Linked DNA regions of Homo sapiens: all the other regions are linked to region 3. The links are contacts of gene promoters, found by promoter capture Hi-C in blood cells and fetal thymus (Javierre and others, 2016). All regions are on one chromosome and are shown on one strand. The core of a region is centred on a gene start or on the middle of the fragment in contact, and the rest is flanking DNA. Distances in the headings are between cores, read along the strand shown. Region 1 overlaps PTPRB (protein tyrosine phosphatase receptor type B). Region 2 overlaps PTPRR (protein tyrosine phosphatase receptor type R). Region 3 holds the start of MYRFL (myelin regulatory factor like). Region 4 overlaps PTPRB (protein tyrosine phosphatase receptor type B). Region 5 overlaps PTPRB (protein tyrosine phosphatase receptor type B). Region 6 overlaps PTPRB (protein tyrosine phosphatase receptor type B). Region 7 overlaps PTPRB (protein tyrosine phosphatase receptor type B).

Evidence for each region. Contacts are between HindIII fragments. The CHiCAGO score rates a contact against its expected background, and 5 or more counts as called.
Region 1: a fragment that was not itself captured here is called in contact with the fragment with the promoter of MYRFL in region 3 in 1 of 17 cell types (monocytes); the score reaches 6.0 in monocytes.
Region 2: a contact is called between a fragment that was not itself captured here and the fragment with the promoter of MYRFL in region 3, in 6 of 17 cell types (M0 macrophages, M2 macrophages, naive B cells and 3 more). The highest score is 6.7, in M0 macrophages.
Region 4: a contact is called between a fragment that was not itself captured here and the fragment with the promoter of MYRFL in region 3, in 2 of 17 cell types (monocytes and naive CD8 T cells). The highest score is 6.4, in monocytes.
Region 5: a contact is called between a fragment that was not itself captured here and the fragment with the promoter of MYRFL in region 3, in 6 of 17 cell types (M2 macrophages, M0 macrophages, naive CD8 T cells and 3 more). The highest score is 9.8, in M2 macrophages.
Region 6: a fragment that was not itself captured here is called in contact with the fragment with the promoter of MYRFL in region 3 in 1 of 17 cell types (naive B cells); the score reaches 5.2 in naive B cells.
Region 7: a fragment that was not itself captured here is called in contact with the fragment with the promoter of MYRFL in region 3 in 3 of 17 cell types (M1 macrophages, M2 macrophages and M0 macrophages); the score reaches 6.7 in M1 macrophages.

Annotation. Positions count from the first base shown.
Region 1 is chr12:70,598,401-70,601,186 of GRCh38, reverse strand. All of the region lies in intron 4 of PTPRB (protein tyrosine phosphatase receptor type B), which reads left to right. Among named protein-coding and RNA genes, the nearest start is that of PTPRB, 38 kb to the left of the region's middle. The HindIII fragment of the contact is 698 bases long and covers 983-1,680 here.
Region 2 is chr12:70,743,887-70,746,586 of GRCh38, reverse strand. It overlaps PTPRR (protein tyrosine phosphatase receptor type R), which reads left to right. Exons shown (of 14, transcript NM_002849.4): 6 at 501-769. The region is part of intron 1 of LOC124902960 (a long non-coding RNA gene); the gene reads right to left. Among named protein-coding and RNA genes, the nearest start is that of PTPRB, 110 kb to the right of the region's middle. The HindIII fragment of the contact is 710 bases long and covers 979-1,688 here.
Region 3 is chr12:69,823,977-69,826,676 of GRCh38, reverse strand. It overlaps MYRFL (myelin regulatory factor like), which reads right to left and starts at 1,450. Exons shown (of 25, transcript NM_182530.3): 1 at 1,114-1,450. The coding sequence starts at 1,159. The HindIII fragment of the contact is 5,503 bases long and covers 236-2,700 here.
Region 4 is chr12:70,563,980-70,566,679 of GRCh38, reverse strand. It overlaps PTPRB (protein tyrosine phosphatase receptor type B), which reads left to right. Exons shown (of 34, transcript NM_001109754.4): 15 at 1-245. All of the region lies in intron 8 of PTPRB-AS1 (PTPRB antisense RNA 1), which reads right to left. Among named protein-coding and RNA genes, the nearest start is that of PTPRB, 72 kb to the left of the region's middle. The HindIII fragment of the contact is 7,249 bases long and covers 1-2,700 here.
Region 5 is chr12:70,581,924-70,584,685 of GRCh38, reverse strand. The region is part of intron 9 of PTPRB (protein tyrosine phosphatase receptor type B); the gene reads left to right. Among named protein-coding and RNA genes, the nearest start is that of PTPRB, 54 kb to the left of the region's middle. The HindIII fragment of the contact is 531 bases long and covers 1,230-1,760 here.
Region 6 is chr12:70,616,967-70,619,681 of GRCh38, reverse strand. All of the region lies in intron 3 of PTPRB (protein tyrosine phosphatase receptor type B), which reads left to right. Among named protein-coding and RNA genes, the nearest start is that of PTPRB, 19 kb to the left of the region's middle. The HindIII fragment of the contact is 3,466 bases long and covers 1-2,715 here.
Region 7 is chr12:70,539,064-70,541,794 of GRCh38, reverse strand. PTPRB (protein tyrosine phosphatase receptor type B) reads left to right here. Exons shown (of 34, transcript NM_001109754.4): 23 at 838-937; 24 at 1,773-1,856; 25 at 1,951-1,968; 26 at 2,089-2,170. The region is part of intron 6 of PTPRB-AS1 (PTPRB antisense RNA 1); the gene reads right to left. Among named protein-coding and RNA genes, the nearest start is that of PTPRB-AS1, 72 kb to the right of the region's middle. The HindIII fragment of the contact is 1,644 bases long and covers 551-2,194 here.

The sequences.
Region 1 (2,786 bases), core at 82-2,581, 770 kb before region 3:
TACAAAATAATACAAAAATTAGGCTGGGCACGCTAGCTCATGCTTGTAATCCCAGCACTTTGGGAGTCCAAGGCGGGTGGATCACGAGGTCAGGAGTTCGAGACCAGCCTGGCCAACACAATGAAACCCTATCTCTACTAAAAATATAAAAATTAGCTGGGCGTGGTGGCAGGCGCCTGTAATCCCAGCTACTCAGGAGGCTGAGGCAGGAGAATCGCTTGAACCCAGGAGGCGGAGGTTGCAGTGAGCCGAGATCATGCCACTGCACTCCAGCCTCAGCGACAGAGCTAGACTCCATCTCAAAAAAAAAAGAAAATACAAAAATTAGCTGGGCATGGTGGTGTGCACCTGTGGTCCTGGCTACTCATGAGGCTGAGGTGGGAGAATCACTTGAGCCCAGGAGGTTGAGACTGCAGTGAGCCATGATCACGTCACTGGACTCCAGCCCGGGTGACAGAGCAAGGCCCTGTCTCAAAAGAAAATAAGGAAGACACTTAGAAGGCTTTCAAAGTAATCCAACACAAAATGAAGGGACTCCAGGTAAAGGCAATAAAATAAGGAAAAAAGGGAACAGGCAAGAAAAATATTATTTTCGAAAAGGGAACTTTCATGCTCACAGAATTAGATTTAGCTGTTACTACTGTTGTTACTCATTTTGACTATGCTACAGTAGCAAACCAACATCTGAAAAATTCTATAAATATGCCTATCATTTTCCGTAGACATCTATTTTTATTTTTTGTCATTACACTGAATATGCAATTCATGACATCATTTCCCACACTAGGACAGCTAAGGTGTGATAGAGAGAAAACAGGATTTAGAGACAGGTATTGGAAGCTCAACTTTACTACCTGTTCCTATACAACACGAGTGAGTCATTTAATGTCTCTGAGCCCCTATTCCAACTGAGAAAGCATGTTGTAGATTATCAGGTCCTATACAGATGTAATGTGGTGCTGTCGTGCCTTTAAGAAAAGCTTTTGGCACCAACTCATGGATTGGCTGCCCTTTTTGTTATAAGGTTGAATTTATTTCTATAGCAAATACAATCACTTCTAATTCTAAAGAGTCTAGACATTTCTATATCAATAAATACTAATGTTTTAATGACCATGCTGTCACAAAAACAATTAAGAAGCAAATATCATTTGTGCTATAAATATAGCTTTCTTTCTCTTTCTAAATAACATTAAAAAAAAAAAAAAAACAGGGTCTTTCTATGTTGCCCAGGCTGAAGTGCAGTAGCTATTCACAGGCACTATTATGATGCACTATAGCCTCCAATACCTGGACCCAAGCAACCCTCCTGCCTCAGCCTCCTGAGTAACTGGAACTAAGGGCACACATCATCACACTTGGCTTCCTAAGTCACATTTAAAAAAAAGAAAAGGAAAAAAGAATTCATTTTGGTTCAGGAATTTTGCCATACTTTGTCTTTTCTTTTGAGAAAAGAAAAATTGTGTTGACGTCAAGCCTGCTTATGGAACTCTGGGGCTTTCTGGTGCTGGTAGATTTATTCAAGTATATACAATGAATATTATAGAACTTACTGTTGTTATTCATTTTGACTATGCATTTGTCATTCCATATTTCAGGTCTGTTGGGAACCAAGAATTACAAAGTGCTCTAAATTTATGGCTAATGATAAATATTGATATATTAATCAAGACTAAAGCTTTGATTTATTATTTTTTGATTTGATTTATTATTAGTTCTCATATTTTATAATACTTCACTGGTTACTATGCGTATGAGTGTGATGATTGGAAAAACCAGAGGCTATAAATGCACACATCTGTGCATTGATACCTTTAACCATTCACATAAATTATATAAGTCAAGTAGGATTTCCTAATTATGTACGATCTGTCATATGATCAGAAGACTATAGGTACATGACTAAATTTTCAAGTAGCATTAAAAATTTTCTCTTTCTCCATATATATATCTATATACATATATTTAATACATACACACACAGTCATATTATATGAAATGTGCACCCCTGATAGAAGTATCTAATAAAATTTTGAAAACTTTTTAAATCCATCAGAGTTTTTATTGGGCTTAGATTTAAAGGGAGTCTGAAAACTATTTAGTTTCTGCAGCATGCATAGCAATAGTGGACAACTGCCAGCAAAGGGCTTTATCACAGTATAAATGGGGTTTTAAGTGTTTGTTTCCAGTGCAGGTTCTCGCAGCCCAGGCACTTCCCAGTCTCATTGTTCCTTTGTTCTAGCGGATGTACAAAGGATTGACTGTTTTGTTTTCTGGCTCAGAAAGATTAGATAAAGTCTGCATTTCTGAACTTCACCCTCTAGACACGCAACCTTAAAATTTATTTCTATATCTCATATTTTGTGGATTATATATGTTTGGATTCTACTGATCATGACATTATTTTTTAAAATTTTTATCTGGCTTGATAGTACATGTAGATGATAGTATTGATCCCTTTTGAACTATCACTGGAAGCAGCTGTCCCTCTCATCCTTGTCCTTAAAATGCCACTTCAGCAAAAGTATGTCATCTCAATTGGGTACGACAGCATTGTTCTTGAGTTTCACTGGCTATTAGAATCTCATAGACTCCTCTATATCTTGTTACTTTTCAAAACTGCCTTGGAATATAAGTATTATTATTATACTCCCCAGATAGGAAAGTGGAGGCTTAGACAGGTTAAATAGCTTGCCCAAAGTCTCATGACTTTGTTAGAGCTGAGATTTAAATTTAATTCTGACTCCAAAGCCCATGCTGTCTGCCATTACATTTCACTGCTTCTG
Region 2 (2,700 bases), core at 84-2,583, 920 kb before region 3:
TCAAGTTGATATATGACTAATGCAGAGATTTACCAACATAAGAAACTGTGGTTTATGGCATAACTATTATTTTATTAATACTTGCAAGACTACTTTTTTCTACTAAGCCATGTTGGATGTATATCTCCATTTCTATAAATGTCATAGACGTGTGTTTTACGGTTATTCCTTCTGTAAGCCTACCATTTCCCCATGTGACCAAACTAACATCTGGCATTTTTCATAAAATTGGTTAAATTTACTTTTGAATATATCTTTGTGGAACAGATTCATGTGCACAATTATTTGATACATATGTGCAGCATAACTGGAAATACCAAGTGTACTGTCTTGAGAAAAATCTCAATACCATGAAACTGAGAAATCATCTCTCAGAGGGCTTTGTTTACTTTATCGTTAAGCCTTTATTTTGGTTTGTCGGCCAGGGTGGGGTGGAGGAGATCATACTCTTGTTTAGTGTGAGAAAATGTGACAGGAGTTTTTTATATCTCCTTCTATAGATTCTTTACAGATTAAAAGAAAGATTTCAGCTTTCCTTAAGACAAGACAAAGAGAAAAACCAGGAGATCCACCTATCGCCCATCACATTACAGCCAGCACTGTCCGAGGCAAAGACAGTCCACAGCATGGTCCAACCTGAGCAGGCCCCAAAGGTACTGAATGTTGTCGTGGACCCTCAAGGCCGAGGTGCTCCTGAGATCAAAGCTACCACCGCTACCTCTGTTTGCCCTTCTCCTTTCAAAATGAAGCCCATAGGACTTCAAGAGAGGTAAGAGCTTGTTCTGTATACCCTACGTGTGGCTTTTTATAAAAAGAGTATTCATCAACTAAAAAAGAAAGAACTAGTAATGATTGACATAATTGGGTAGAATTGTTCACCACTAAATGGACAGTCAGATGAAGTAGTGTTTCTTGTCTCCCAAAGGAATCCAACTGTGTTAGATAAAATCTGTTAGGTATGTCTGATTCTGCTAAGCTTGTCTAGATTCAAGATGGTATAGATCCAAGCAAAGTTCATCTTCAACTACAAGACAATTTCTAGCTTATTGAGGTTCACTGACCTCACAAGATGCTATCTTGTTTAATTGTCATGAAACTCTGGTAGGTAGAAGACTGAGAATGAACTCAGAGTGTTTCCTGCAAAAGCCCACGTTGTCTGGAGTTAGGCAGGAGTTGATGCCACAGATTAATTTTTTTTAAAGTTTTAGCTCTGCATTTTTTAACCACAACAAACATTCAGTATCAAGATCCATGACACTGGACGGGCGCAGTGGCTCACGCCTATAATCCAAGTACTTTGGGAGGCTGAGGTGGGTGGATCACTTGAGGCCAGGAGTTCAAGACCAGCCTGGCCAATAGCCAGGTGAGGTGGCGCATGCCTGTAATCCCAGCTACTTGGGAGGCTGGGATGTGAGAATTGCTTGAACCTGGGAGGCAGACGTTGCAGTGAGCCGAGATAGCATCACTGCACTCCAGCCTTGGCAACAGAGTGAAACTCTATCTAAAGAAAAAAAAAATCCATGACATTATTTTTGTTGCCTTACCTTTTTTGTGATGTATTATACATGTGATTCACTTTATACCAATACATTTCCATTAAACGCAAATCCAATGTAAGAAAACTTGGATTTGCAAAATACATAAATGAGAGACTAATTCTTTGCCTCTCAAAAATATTAAGTAAAGCTTTCCCATGGCGTTTCTTAAAATAAGAAGCTTTAATTTTATATTTAAAACATGACTTGTAGTGTATCCAACTTTGAACACCAGGGTAGTGGGAGAGTAAGTTCTCAAAGTAATATCCCAGGTTCATTCTCCTCTTATTTTCCATGTCTCCATTTTCTAACCCCATATATTTTGTTGCCTGAGGTTTTTAAATCACATATATAAATTTTGAATATATTTCCCATGATACATCACAATGCCCTATGCAAATAGTTATGGTTTACACACACAAACACACCCTTCAGAAAATATAGCTTGGGATTTTAAGAACTGCAGAATACAAAATTGATCCTTCATAATTATTTGAAAGTATTGCCAAGGAACAATGGATGACATAAAAATAAAGGAATGTGTTTATCTCTAAAAGTCCTTAAACACTGAACCCTTTGACTCCACAACAGGAAGAAAACAGAGATTGATCAAGTCATTCTTTCCACCTCCTCCCCTAAAATACCTGTGGTTTCTTGATGGGCAATGTAGGTCTCCATGTGACATTCACTTACGTAGATATCACTAAATTGCTTTTTGTGATTCAGTGTGGAAAGGTAGAGAAAATGGAACTTTCTCCCTAAGGCTAACTGGGAGTCAGGAGAACTGGATTCCAGACCCAGCCCTGCCGTTCCTGGGTTTGGTGGCCTCACCTGAGTCATTCACTCATCTGGACCTCATTTTCTTCTAAAAGATAAAGAGGTTTAACTTGATTTTTTAGCTTCTTTCTGGTTCTTTTACTCTGGTCATCCACATTATTTTTGTGCTTTTATGTTTGCTTCAAAGAGGAACTTTGAAGCACAGACCTGGGCATCAGTGATGAACGAAGGGCCGGTGGCAAGAAAGGGTCTGCAGGCAATAGGAGGCCATGTTATCTATAGTAGATAACAATGAAGGGTCATAATGAAACTGATTAAAAGACAAATTTTTATTATCATCATGCACTACCAATTCTAAGCAAGGTCAGAATAAAATTGTCTAGGAAAG
Region 3 (2,700 bases), core at 201-2,700:
GTAACAAGCTGTAGAGGGGACTTGTAGAAACTATATCCATAGAAACCTCCAAAAATAGTATAAACAAGGACAGTATAGGGATCCCATAGAAATAAAAGCTCTTTCAAAAAACAGAAGGTAGACCAAATTCGATATTCAGGTCTTCCCTAGCTCTAGAAGGAAATGGAGTAGATTTTTGCATGTATACAATAAATTGCTGGTTTCTCTAAAATAGATGCAATGGTAGATTGAAGCTTGCCACCTGCTGCTCAAACGAAAATTATATATGATATAAAATCAGGCAATAACAGTCTAGCAACACTAGTGTGCCTACCATGTGCCAAGCATGACCCAGGTAGACAATACCAACTTGGCCACTGTCAGAGACAGAACACTCAATGGGATGGATGGTAGGACAAGATAATGTGATAATTCTCTTGGTCTTATGTTTCTTCTTGCCATTTCTGGAAAAACCCAAGCCACAGAAACTACCCCATGGTGTTGATTCCTCCCAATAGTGACATAGAATCTCACTATTTCTTTGGTACGCCCCGTCACTCTTTAGTGTTCAGCATTGTTTACTATTCAGCCCATTCCATTCAACTTTTAAATATATATTATTTGTCAGGCACTTTACAAAGCACAAGAAATACCTAAAGCACTTTTCTCGATGTGCTGCTGACTGATCCCTAGATTCTGTAAATGAGCAGGTCTTCCCTCACTTCTTCTCATACTCCCTCATGCAAAATACCTTACCGTGTAAAAATGATGGTCACGTTTCCCTTCACATGGAATTTGAGCATGGCTATGTAGTTTTTTTAAACATAGGGCATGGGAAAAAATAAAATCTAGTACAGGACAGGGACAAGTAATAACAACATAAATATGCTGACCCCTTGATTCTAACAACCAAACTATAAGATGAAAATCCTGTTTTGTTTAAAATCTCTATCCATACCATTGAATTTTGCTCCCAATGTAGCAAATAAACCCCTACTTTTGATATTAGGAGAGTTACCTAAGTATGATAGCATTTCTTTCAAAACAAAGTTTAAGTGAATACGGAAAAGGTGAAACAGGGATAGTGAGCATTTCTCAGAAGCAGCAAATTCATGCTGGAAATTGGCCTCTTACCTTCAAAGAACTGCTGCAGGGCCTCATTTTCGCCTACCACATCCATGGTACTGTGATCCTAGTACTATTTCCTCATAAAACAACGGTTATCAGACCTCAGGAAATAAGTACTGTCCTTTTGATTCGAAGCCTACGAATGCTCTTGAAAAATCTTCATTTTCTTTTTATTGGAGTGAAGCATATCTTCAGCCATCAAATTGTGCCCAGAAAGATGGTTGAGTTTTCAAATGTGATTATAAAACTGGAAGGATATACAACCATACATTTAAAAAAAATTCATGAAGAGGGAAGAGGTAGCAAATTCATCTGTCTTAATATAAGGAACTGTTTCTACTCTGCTTTTCGTCTTTAAGGACCTTTGTCCTTAGTGACACATGCAATTACATAAATGGGCAATAAATACATAGTCTTATCTCATATTTGTCCTTTTACACCAATATATTTATATCTCCACCTTTATCAACTAGATCCACTTAGCTACCACCAATAAAACATACTTATTTTTTTAACCTAGAAAAAAGGGATAAATCAATATAATTACTTTTATAGATACCTATCATCACAGGTAATTTTAAAAGGCTTGTGATAATGAAAAGTTAGAATTTGTTAAGTATTTCCAAACTTACAGCAAAAACTTAAATTCCTTAATACATACCTGTTCCATTTCCTCTAGAGCTTATTTGCTTCCAAAGCATAAACCATAAAGTATGAGAAGTCTCTCTAACAAGCAACGAAAACTGCATTACCAATTTAATAATTCTTACAGTTGAGTCACTAGTAACTTGATTCACTCCTAAATATAAAACCATACCCGAATAAATGTTTTGTTTTCACTGCTTAGCTATAATTCATTTAACAATAGCCTAAGAAAATACAATTAGGAAATTAAATTATCCTTTCGCCCCTTCCTTTTCTTTTTTCCCAACTATTTGGAAAAAAAATAGTATCATAAAATATCCATATACTCTTCATCTACACTTACCAATTATTGACACTCTCTCATATATATATATATATACACATACATATATATACATATATATATACATATATACATATATATATGAGACAGAGTGGTAGCAGTGGATATGGATATGTGTGTGGATATGGATATGTGTGTGGAAGGATATGGATATATATATATCCATATATAGTTTGTTTATATATATATCCATATAGTTTTTATATATATAGTTTATTTCTAATTTTTATGGATACACAATAGTTGTACATATTTATGGGGTACATATATTTTGATACAAACATACAATGTGTAATGATCAAATCAGGGTAATTGGGGTATCCATCACCTCAAACATTTATCATTTATCATTTATGTTGGGAACATTCCAAATCCACTCCTTTATTGTGAAATATAAATTATTGTTAACTGTATTTACCCTATTGTGCTACCAAACACTAGATCATATTCCTTCTATATATTTTTGCACCCATTACCCAACCCCTCTTTATCCCCTCACCCCCTAACCCCTATTACCCTTCCCAGCCTCTGCTATCCTCCTTTGCATTCACTACCTATAGTGGTAGATTCTGAATGTATATATATATATATATATATCCATACCC
Region 4 (2,700 bases), core at 195-2,694, 740 kb before region 3:
TGCAGACAATGCATACAGCAGTTATTCCTTAATAGTAAGTTGGCAAAAAGCTGCTGGTGTGGCAGAAAGATATGATATCCTGCTTCTAACTGAAAATGGAATCCTTCTGCGCAACACATCAGAGCCAGCCACCACTAAGCAACACAAATTTGAAGATCTAACACCAGGCAAGAAATACAAGATACAGATCCTAACTGTCAGTGGAGGCCTCTTTAGCAAGGAAGCCCAGACTGAAGGCCGAACAGGTAATTAGCACAGCATAATGTTTTGTAGCACATATTGCCAATGTCTGCTATTGTGTAAGAACCCCAGGGTGAGAGGGATGAAGCAACATTGGGAGATGATATCTATCTCTTGATACGCTGGGAACATTCACCCTGATTTGCCACTTCCATGTCAGTTGCCCTATCCACGCAGGACTCAGCCCACCACACTCTGTTTCTGATTTTTCATTAATATTGGTGCTATTAGCTTCCTATTGCTGCTATAATAAACTATCACAATCTTAGTGGCTTAATACCACCCAAATTTATTATTTTCTAGTCCTGAAGATTAGAATCTGAAAATGGTTTTTTGGGACTGAAATCAAGACAACAGGGCTGTGTTTCTTGTAGACACTTTAGAGGGAGAATCCACTCCTTGCCTTTTTCAGCTTCTGAGGCCGCCCACATTCCTTGGCTCGTGTCCCCCTCCCAACAGTGACATTGCTCCAATCTCTGCATGGGACCTTACATCTCTTTCTCTGCTCTCCTGCCTCCCTCTTCCATCTTTTAAGGACTCTTGTGATTACCTTGGTCACCAACCGGACAATCCAGGATAATTCCTTCGTCTCAAGATCCTTAACTTAATCACATCTACAAAGCCCTTTTTGCCACAGAAGGTAACATATTCACAGGTTCTGGGGGTTAGGACATGGACATCTTTGGGGCCATTATTCAGACAACCACATTGGCCTAATTGATTGATAACTTATTTATTAAGTACATAGGTCTGAAGGCGGGGATGGTTATGTTGACAGGGACATAAAGATGAATCAGGCATGCTTCTCGTCCTTAAAGAGCTGACTGACGAGACAGACACATGGACAAATAATGGCAATGCATTGTGATAAAGAGTACATATAAGAGAGGGATGTCTGGCATTCAGGGAAGCATGGAGGTCAGGTAGAATTGAGACATCTTCATAAAAGTGACATTTCAGTACTGCCTTGAAGGATGAAGAAATTCTCCTTATGGAGAGAAGGTAGAATACTTTGTACAGACAGTCTGTCCTGTGCAAAGGCCAAGAGGTATGAACAGGAGAAAGGAGAAGTTGTGGGTGGCTGAAATGTGTGTTGCATGATGGAAAGGTGAGACTGAAAGCCAGATTGGAGCCAAATTAGAGGGTGCCTGGTAGCCTTCCTCAGGAATTTTATCTTAAAGCAATACAAAACTTTTAGCCAGAGAGTAATTGTTTTGTAATAAAAGATGTATCTTTAAAAAGATAAATCAGATAGCAATGGGGGAATGGATTGAATGGAAATGAACCAGAAGTGAGGAGATCCACCTATCAATTCATTTATTATTGAGTACCTACTATAGGCTAGGCACTGTTCTAACTGCTGGATATACAGAAGTGAATAAAAAAACTCCCATGGTCATTATGTTTATAGTCTAGTGGGGAAGAAAGTCAATAAATAAAATAAATAAGTAAAAGATGTAGGAGGTTGGGTGGTAATAAAGACCAAGAAGGAAATTAAGTTAGGAAGGTGGGATAGCAAGAGTTGGGGCTTACAATTTTATCTATCTATTTATTATTATTATTATTATTATTATTATTATTATTATTATTATTATTTATTATTTTTGGAGACAGAACCTCGCTCTGGCACCCAGGATGGAGTGCAGTGGCACAATCTCAATTCACTGCAACCTCTGCCTCCTGGGCTCAAACAATCCTCCCATCTCAACCTCCCAAGTAGTTGGGACTTCAGGCATGTGCCACCACACCCAGCTAATTTTTGTATTTTCTTGTAGACACAGGGTTTCTCCACATTGCCTAGGCTGGTCTCGCACTCCTGGGCTCAAGAAATCCACCTGCCTCAACCTCCCAAAGTGTTGGGATTACAGGCACGAGCCACCACGCCTGGTCAAGGGGCTTACAATTTTTTTTTTTTTTTTTTGAGATGGAGTCTCCCTCTGTTGCCCAAGCTGGAGTGCAGTGGTGCGATCTTAGCTCACCACAACCTCCACCTCCTGGGTTCAAGCAATTATCCTGCCTCAGCCTCCCGAGTGCATACCGAGTGGGACTACAGGTATGCACCACTACACCCGGCTAATTTTTATATTTTTAGTAGAGACAGGGTTTCACCATGTTGGCCAGGCTGGTCTTGAACTCCTGACCTCAGGTGATCCACCCTCCTCAGCCTCCCAAAGTGCTGGGATTACAGGCATGAGCCACTGCACCTGGTCGGGACTTACAATTTTAGATAGTACAGTCCCCAAAGACTTCATTGAGGCAGTGACATTTGAGTAAAAATCTGAAAGAAATGAGAAAGTCATGCAAATATTTGGGTATTTATAAGCAGAGCCAATGCCAACACAAAGACCTTGAGTGGGTGTGTGTCTGACCTGTTGGAGGAACAGTAAAGAGGCCCATATGGCTGGAACAGAGTGAGCGAGGATGAGTGGTGGGGATGCAGATGGACAGGTAATGGGGGTC
Region 5 (2,762 bases), core at 246-2,745, 760 kb before region 3:
ATAGCTCTCATTTTTATATAGCTCTCGGTCTTGAAAGATATTTTCCTTAAGTTCCAACTCTGTGTTTAAAGTTACTTTCTCTCAGCACATAAAAGATATTATTCTAGTCTTTCTGGGATTTATTGTTGCGCTGAGTCAGCTGTCAGTCTGATTTTTATTTCTCTATGAGTCTGTTTGCTATGACTGCTTTTTTGCCTTTGGGGTTCAGTTGTTTCACAATAATGATCAAGGTGTAGATATATTTCTTTTTGTTTCTCTTGCTCAAGATTGATTGGCATTTCTGTACTTTCCAACTAGTGTCTTTCTACAATCCTGGAAATTCTCAGCTATTAACTCTCTAATATTGCCTCTTGCCCCTTCTCCATTCCCCACTCTGTCATCTTCTGGTATTCTAGAACACACATATATGAACACATCAATATATTTCATATTTTCCATGTGTTTTCTCTCTGAACTACAGTATAGGTAACTTTCTCATATCTTTGATTCATTTCATTAATTCTTTCTTCAGCTTTGTCTAATCTATTTTAAAATCTACCCACTGTTTTAAATTTTAATTGTTATGTTCACTTTTAAGCATTCTCTTTGGCTCTCTTTCAAATTTATGTTGTGCTCTGTTGCTCTTTAGTTATATTTTCATTCCCCTCCTGTATTGTTATATGCAAATTAACAATGTTTATTTTCCATCCTATGTCTGATAATTATAATAGCTGAAATCTTCAGGAGTTAAGTTCTGTTGTCTTTTGATTTTCCTGCCTTTTGTTTATGTTGCTTTATTTCTTTAAATGTATGTGATTTCTTTTTACTGTAAGCCTGTTTTCCCTAGAATTTTATTCTGTGGAAATTATTTAAGGCCATGTTTGAAGGTGAGTTTCAGAAAGAATTTTCATTTGATTCTTTCAGGTGCACAAGACTGCTATCAAACCAGACCTACTTTAATCTAAATTGTCAACTTTAGGTTCTTTGATCACCTGGGTTTTATAAATTCAGGTTGCAAACACATTGAAACTATCTTAAGGTTATGAGTTCTCAGAGGAAATCGTTTTCTCCATCCAGTATTAAGAAGGCTGAAGTTGTATGGGGAGTAAAGAGAGACTATTTATTTCACTTATACTTAGAATGTAGCCTTTCCAATGTTATGCAAGGTCAGCTATGAGTTTCTTCAGCCTGGAAAAATCTACACTTTACCTCCTTTCTCCAATATCCTGCAGTGCTATAAAATCAAAGCTTACATTTGCATTTGAAAGGTGCTCTCAACACAACAGTTCGCTTTATGATCCAATTACCTCTCTATCCTTTACTTTTTGGCCTTTGAGAATCTCTTACATTCCTGACAAGTCATTCATTTACATTTTCACATTTTATCCAATATGTATAGTTGTGTTTATTAGAAGGATTTTCATGGTATCTAGCCTATCATACTGCCAGAAAGGGAAGTCCAAGACATTGTTTTAGACCTAAGGTCATTTTTATCATCCCCACCACCCATATTGCTGGGTCATATGGTAAATGCATGTTTAACTTTGTAGAAAACTGCCAAACTGCTTTCCAAAGTATTGTAAAATTTTACATTCCCACCAGCAATGTATGAAATTTCCACTTCCTCCGTGTTCTCAGCATGTAGTACATGGTATTAGCAGTTTGTTTTAAAATTTAGCCATTCTAATGGAATAGCCATTATAATAAGATAATGATAGCTCATGTGGTTTTAATTTGCCTTTTTCTAATGTCTAATGGGTTTGAGAATCCTTTCACAAGCTTATTTGTCACCCATTTATCTTTTCTGGGGAAGTTTTTGTTCAAATATTTTGCTGGATTTTAAAATAGGATTGTTTGTTTGTCCTTGGTCAAAATGTTTTCTGTCGGTTTTTCATTTTGATGTCCAATTTATCAGTTTTTTTCTTTCATAAATCATGCTGTGGTGTCATATCTAAAAATATTTGCCTAAATCAAGGTCACAAAGGTTTTCTCCTAGAAGGTTATAGTTTTAGGTTTTAAATGTAGGTCTGCGACCCATTTTGAGTTAATTTTTATATATGATGTGAGATATAGGTGAAGGTTTTTTTCTTTGCATATAGACATCTGATAATTCTACCTCTATGTATTGAAAAGACTATCTTTTCTCCATGAAATTGCCTTTGAATCTCTAAAAAATCCATTGATAGCATATTCTTCTATCTCTGGGCTCTCAATTCTGTTCTATCAATCTATGTTTCTGTCTGCCCTTTGCCAGTATTATCCTGTCTTGATTACAAGATTTTTAGTGAAATCAGGTGGTGTTAGTCCTCTAACTTTATTCATCTTTTTCAAAATTGCTTTGGCCACTGTAGCTGTTTGCCTTTCATATAAAATTTAGAATTATAATTGAATCTTTAGAATTGAATCTGATCCATATACAGTAGGATTTTTTTAATGAACGCTTTTGTATCTTAATCCAGAAGTCAATGAACTTTGAGAAAGAGGGGTGCCAAGGTTCCAGTCCCTTTGATTATTGTAATTCAGGAAAGAGGCACAAAGAAGAATGTATGTTGACCAAGTGCCAACTTCAAGATCTGTGTATAAGATTTGTTAAATGATAAGTTGGAAGAAATAAATGTTGTTAATTAGGAAAAGGACACAGGCTTAGGGGTTAGATAAATCTAGCTTTCAGTTCCAGGTTGGCTATTTGTTAGCACTGTGATATAGGCTAAATTACTTACATTTTATGATCCTTGGTTTCCTTGTTAATAAATGGAATAATAAAGTCAACTTTATAGAGTTCT
Region 6 (2,715 bases), core at 53-2,552, 790 kb before region 3:
GCAGTCAGTGCTGGGTGTAGGCTGGGGAGTCTAGGTTCTCCTCCACATGGCCTCTTATCTGCCAGTAGGCTACACCAGCTTCCTTTTCATGATGGGTTAGGGCAGCCTCACCAGAAGTCAAAGGTGGAAGCTACAAGCCTTTTGAGGCCGAGGCTCTGGAACCATGCAACATCACTTCTGCGATATTCTATTGATCAAAGCAACTCTCAAACCAGGCTAGATTCAGGGAGTGTAGAAATAGATTCCATTTCTTGATGGGAAGAGCTGCAAAGTCACATTGTAAAGGAGCGTGCATATTGAGTGGGAGGAATCTGTGACCATTAAGCAATCTACCATAGTATCATCATTATCATTATCATTATCATTATCATCATCATCATCATCACCACCACCACCCACTATCTCTGTTTTATAGATACCCAGCTGAAACTTAAAAAGGAACTTGCCCAAGATTAAATGACTAGGGAATAACAGACCAAGAAGAGTATACACACACACACACACACACACACACACACACACACTCCCCTAAACATCTAGTCACATATTCTCTTACATAGTGTGCCTGATAATAAAGGTAAATGCCAAGGAGGACATGATTTGAAATCCAGCAATCACTCCTCTCTAATGCTACTGCAAGATTGTCCTATGTTGGCTATTGGGGATCAGAGTATTCCCTGCCGTTCTCCTTTTCTCTCTCTCTTCTCACATCCTTACCTGCCAGTGTGAGGGGTCTGACTTTGGAAGTTTGTATACTTGGGCCGGTACTTGACCTCAAAACTCTGTGGTGCTCTCTCTCTTCTAGCCCCCAACCCTGAGCAGTAAATGAATTAACACATATCATAGGCCTAGAGTAGTGCCTGAATGATAGTAAAATAGTGTTTAATTAATTTTAGCTGCCATTGTTGTTATTGTCACTTTTATAAATAGTATTATGTGGATTGCGTGTCTTCACAAGGACAAAATCGATAGAACAGGAAACTTGTCTATGGTATGAGTCAGGAAATACTTTGATCAATTGTTCGCCAAGTATGGACCCTAGTCCCAGAACTTATTAGACATGCAACCACTTGGACCCTATTCTAGACCTAATAAATCAGAAGCTGGGACTCTGTGTCAGAGAAACCTGGCTTAAATCCCAGTGGTGATATCTACTAGTTACTCAAGTCCCACTCATTTCTTCTTTAACTTAAGGATAGTTATGGGTACTCACTCTGCCTCATAAGACAGGATTAAATTCTGATTAAGTAAAATGTTTTCGAATACTGGCTAGGCCTGATGCAGTGGTTTACACCTATAATCCCAGCACTTTGGGAGGCCGAGGTGAGCAGATCACTCAAGCCCAGGAGTTCGAGACCAGCCTGGGCAACAGGGCAAAACCCTGTCTCTGCAAGAAAAAATAAAAAAATTAAAAATTACCCAGATATGGTGGTGCGTGCCTGTGATCCCAGCTACTGGGGAGGCTAAGGCAGAAGGATCATTTGAGCCCAGGAGGCCAGGGCTGCAGTGAGCTGTGATCATGCCCCTGCACTCCAGCCTGGATGACAGAATGAGACCCTGTTTCAAAACAAACAAACAAACAAAAAACAAACAAGAACACTGGCTATACATGATAAATATTCAATAGTTTTAGCTATTAATACTAGCTTCTCCTTGTTCCTGCTTCATCATTCCTACCTTGCCTTCTTCACAGGGTGTTAAAAACCAGATGAGTCAACATATTATGTGAAAATACTTTGAAAGGGATAAAATGCAGAACATGCATTAGAAATGTTACTGGCTGGTTCTGATACTGCTAAATATCTCTAAATCTTTCCCTGCCCACCCACCCTTGCTCCGGCCTGGGAGAAGGATTGCATTTCCTCAGTTCATGAATAGCCATTGTGGTACTGGTCTGGGCTTTCACAGTTTTGTGTTTCCTTCTATTTGGCCTTCAAAGAGATCACAGCCCAGTGTGAGTCTCCAGATAAATGAGGAGGCAAATGCAGAAAACACCCCACCCCTGCAAATGCAGAAAACTCCACCCCCTGCAAGTCTGGGATAACCTCCTATATTGGGGTCACTTAAAGTATGCAGGGGAGACACCCCGCTGCTACTACTGTTCTGTAGCCAGAACTAAAGATGGGAAAAAATTCCCCTTCACTGAGGCAAATGCCTGGAGGGAGGAGGGCAAAGAAGTAGCGGGGGAGAGGGGGAAAGGAAACCATCCTCTGATCCTTCATCTCGACTCCTAGATTGACTAGTGTGAATGGATACTATATAAACAGACTCTGAGACTGCTGATGCTACAAAAAAGGCCACTTGGGAAATAACATATTGTGGGGAGGATACGTTTCAAAAGAACTTAATTTATAATTAACATCTTTCAAGCCTAATTCTAACATGGACTATAGTTTTCTTAATTTGCCAGTTAAAGTGGACTACCATGTGCCAATAGCATAAAGATGGTCTACAATTCACTGGACCCCACCAGCCTGAAAATCTCAAGGATTTTTATTCTCTTTCATTTTCTTTTAGTGATGGGCGATTTGCATTGTTTTCCATTTTGTGCACAAAAAGACCATGTTGCTATTTTGTGAACATATAGTTAACCCTTGAACAACATGGTTTTGAACTGTGCAGGTCCATTTATACGGGACTTTCTTTCAACCAAATGCAAATGAAAAATACATTATTGGTGGAATTTGTAACTCAGGTATACAGAGGACCAACTTT
Region 7 (2,731 bases), core at 123-2,622, 720 kb before region 3:
AATCTTGGTATATGCTATAACATGGATGAACCTTGAAAACATTATGCTAAATGAAAGGAGCCAGTCCCAAAAGATCACAGATTTATGATTTCATTTCTATGAAACATCCAGAATAGGCAAATCCACAGACACAGAAAGTAGATTAGTGGTTGCCAGGGATCGCGGGGAGGGAGGAGTGGGACTGACTGCTAATAGGTACGCGGTTTCTTTTGAGGGTGATGAAAATGTTTTAAAATTGATTGTGGTGACATTTGCAAAACTTTGACTATACTAAAGACCACTGAATTGTACAACTTAGATGGGTGAGTTGCATGCTATATGAATGATATTTCAATAAAGCTATTTTAAAAATGAGGCCACTCTTACCTCTTCATAAACTCCCAGTAGCGTTACCATACCAGATAATAAAAATAAGACTTCTTAGAATAGCTCCAAGCAATCCACTGGATTTTCCAAAGCCCCAGATGCTGTGTAACATGTTTTATATAAATGAAATGGCATTTTTATCTTGGTGGCAAACTTATGGCCTTTATCTCAGGTGCCCCAAGCTTTATATACAAGTGCAAAGTCCAAAATTCCTCTATAAGCTATGCAACATTAACTTCAAAAGTATGCAGTGACACCTGGCCTCACTGCTACAGGGTGGGAGCCAGCCTTTCATCATCTTCTTAGGTGCATACTCAGAGCCTTTGGAAAGTAAATGCCTCATCGTGGGCATCACTTGAATTCTATTTGTAATAACATTACTTGGGAGATATGGCTTCAATAGCTTTCTTACTGGTTCCCTAGCACTAATTTTCCCACCTGCGTTTGTTGTTTCTATCTGGATTATTGTAGAGCCCTTGTTTGGAGCTATTGAAGGTGTGAGTGCTGGTCTGTTTTTAATTGGCATGCTAGTGGCTGTTGTTGCCTTATTGATCTGCAGACAGAAAGTGAGGTAAGTACAAAGATCCTTTTGGTGATTGGACCCACAACTTTAAAAATGCAACTGAAAATTCCCTTTAGGCTGAAAACTAAGAAGGGAAAATAATTTAATTTTTCCAGGTTAAATTGTCACTGTTTTCTCAATAAAAACAAGTCAAACTCTAAAGCCATGACTCACTTTTCTCAGCTCTTTTATATCCCATTGATGAATTCAGCCCTTACCAAAGGACTGAGGGGCCATCTATAGCTTTATTTAAAGATGAAGTGACTCCTTTTGCACAGGAAAAAAATATTTTGTGTGTGTGTGTGGTTCATATCCTCATGAAGACAGAGATGTTTGCAAATTGCATGCCCAAGTGCTTTTCTGAAATATCCTGAAAAGTGTGGTTGACATCACCATTTTGTAGTTCATATCTGCCATCCTAATTTAAGAAGGGACCAAAAAGAACCAAATAGCATGTGGCCCCAAGTGTCGTGCCTTCTTCTCTTAGTGAATTTTTTTTCTTAATTTGGCACATGTTCCTCTTTATTGAAGTCGTGTCTGGCATCTGAAATTTACTGGATTTTTTTAAAGCAAAGTTTTATTGAGAATGTGGGAAGTGATTATAACCTGTAGCCAAAAACCAGGAGACAAATCTTCAGTTTTTGCAGAGATCCGTTTCTGGGTGGGAATGATCTACTTTATTCTCTTTCCTTTCCCTCCCTCAGAGATGTTGGCTGAGTGCAAATCTGTATGAATACTGAAAAATCCATATTTGCACAAACATCCACAGCCTTACCATAAATGGAAAAATTTGTTCAAGCCAAGTATCATAATCAGAATAAAAGTTATCTCCCTTATGTTTCAGCCATGGTCGAGAAAGACCCTCTGCCCGTCTGAGCATTCGTAGGGATCGACCATTATCTGTCCACTTAAACCTGGGCCAGAAAGGGTAAGCACCACATTTGCCTTCGTATAATTTGTTGAAAGATGGTATTATGTGAAATTTGCTAACAAAGTCTTCCTCTTTTGGCTTCTCTTCACAGTAACCGGAAAACTTCTTGGTAAGAGAGAGAACACATTAATTACTATATTATCTGCCTTTGAAATATGAGTCAGAATAGTTATGGCACTTTCCCTTTTCTGCAGTAACTCTTTTCTGTTTGTTTCATTTTTAATTACAGTCCAATAAAAATAAATCAGTTTGAAGGGCATTTCATGAAGCTACAGGCTGACTCCAACTACCTTCTATCCAAGGAATACGAGGTACAACTCAGGCAGAATGAAGCTTCAGCATCCCTAGTTCTTAGCAGAATTTCCTTCCTAATGTTTACTGTGTCATCATAGGCTGATTGAGCTCAGAAGTTAGGAGGCTGCTTAGAATCTCAGCTGAGCACTCTTTTATGCCTAAACTATGCCCTGAATAGAATATACCATCTAATCTTAGAGGCCAGCTTGAGCTCCAGAATAACACAGCAAACCAAGGGCTACCTGGATCAGATAGTAAGGAAGAATTAACAAATCTCAAATGCAGACCTAAAGCTGTCAGATATTCAGCCTGGCCATTTGCTTGGCTGGAAGATGCCGTGGTTTCGCAAAAAGCACGTAGCTTTTGGAACTGATTCTCAGGTTTGCCACTTGGGTGACCTGGGGCACATCAGTTATCCTGACTGAGCCTCACCTGTAAAATAGTGAGACCACCACCTCCCTTGTGGGGCTGTTGTGGGGATCAGGGCTAATGCATGTTGAGTACTAGGCATTCATAAACAATAGCTAGTGTATATATTTTCATGTTATTATGTTATCTCCAGGACTGTATGATTTGCT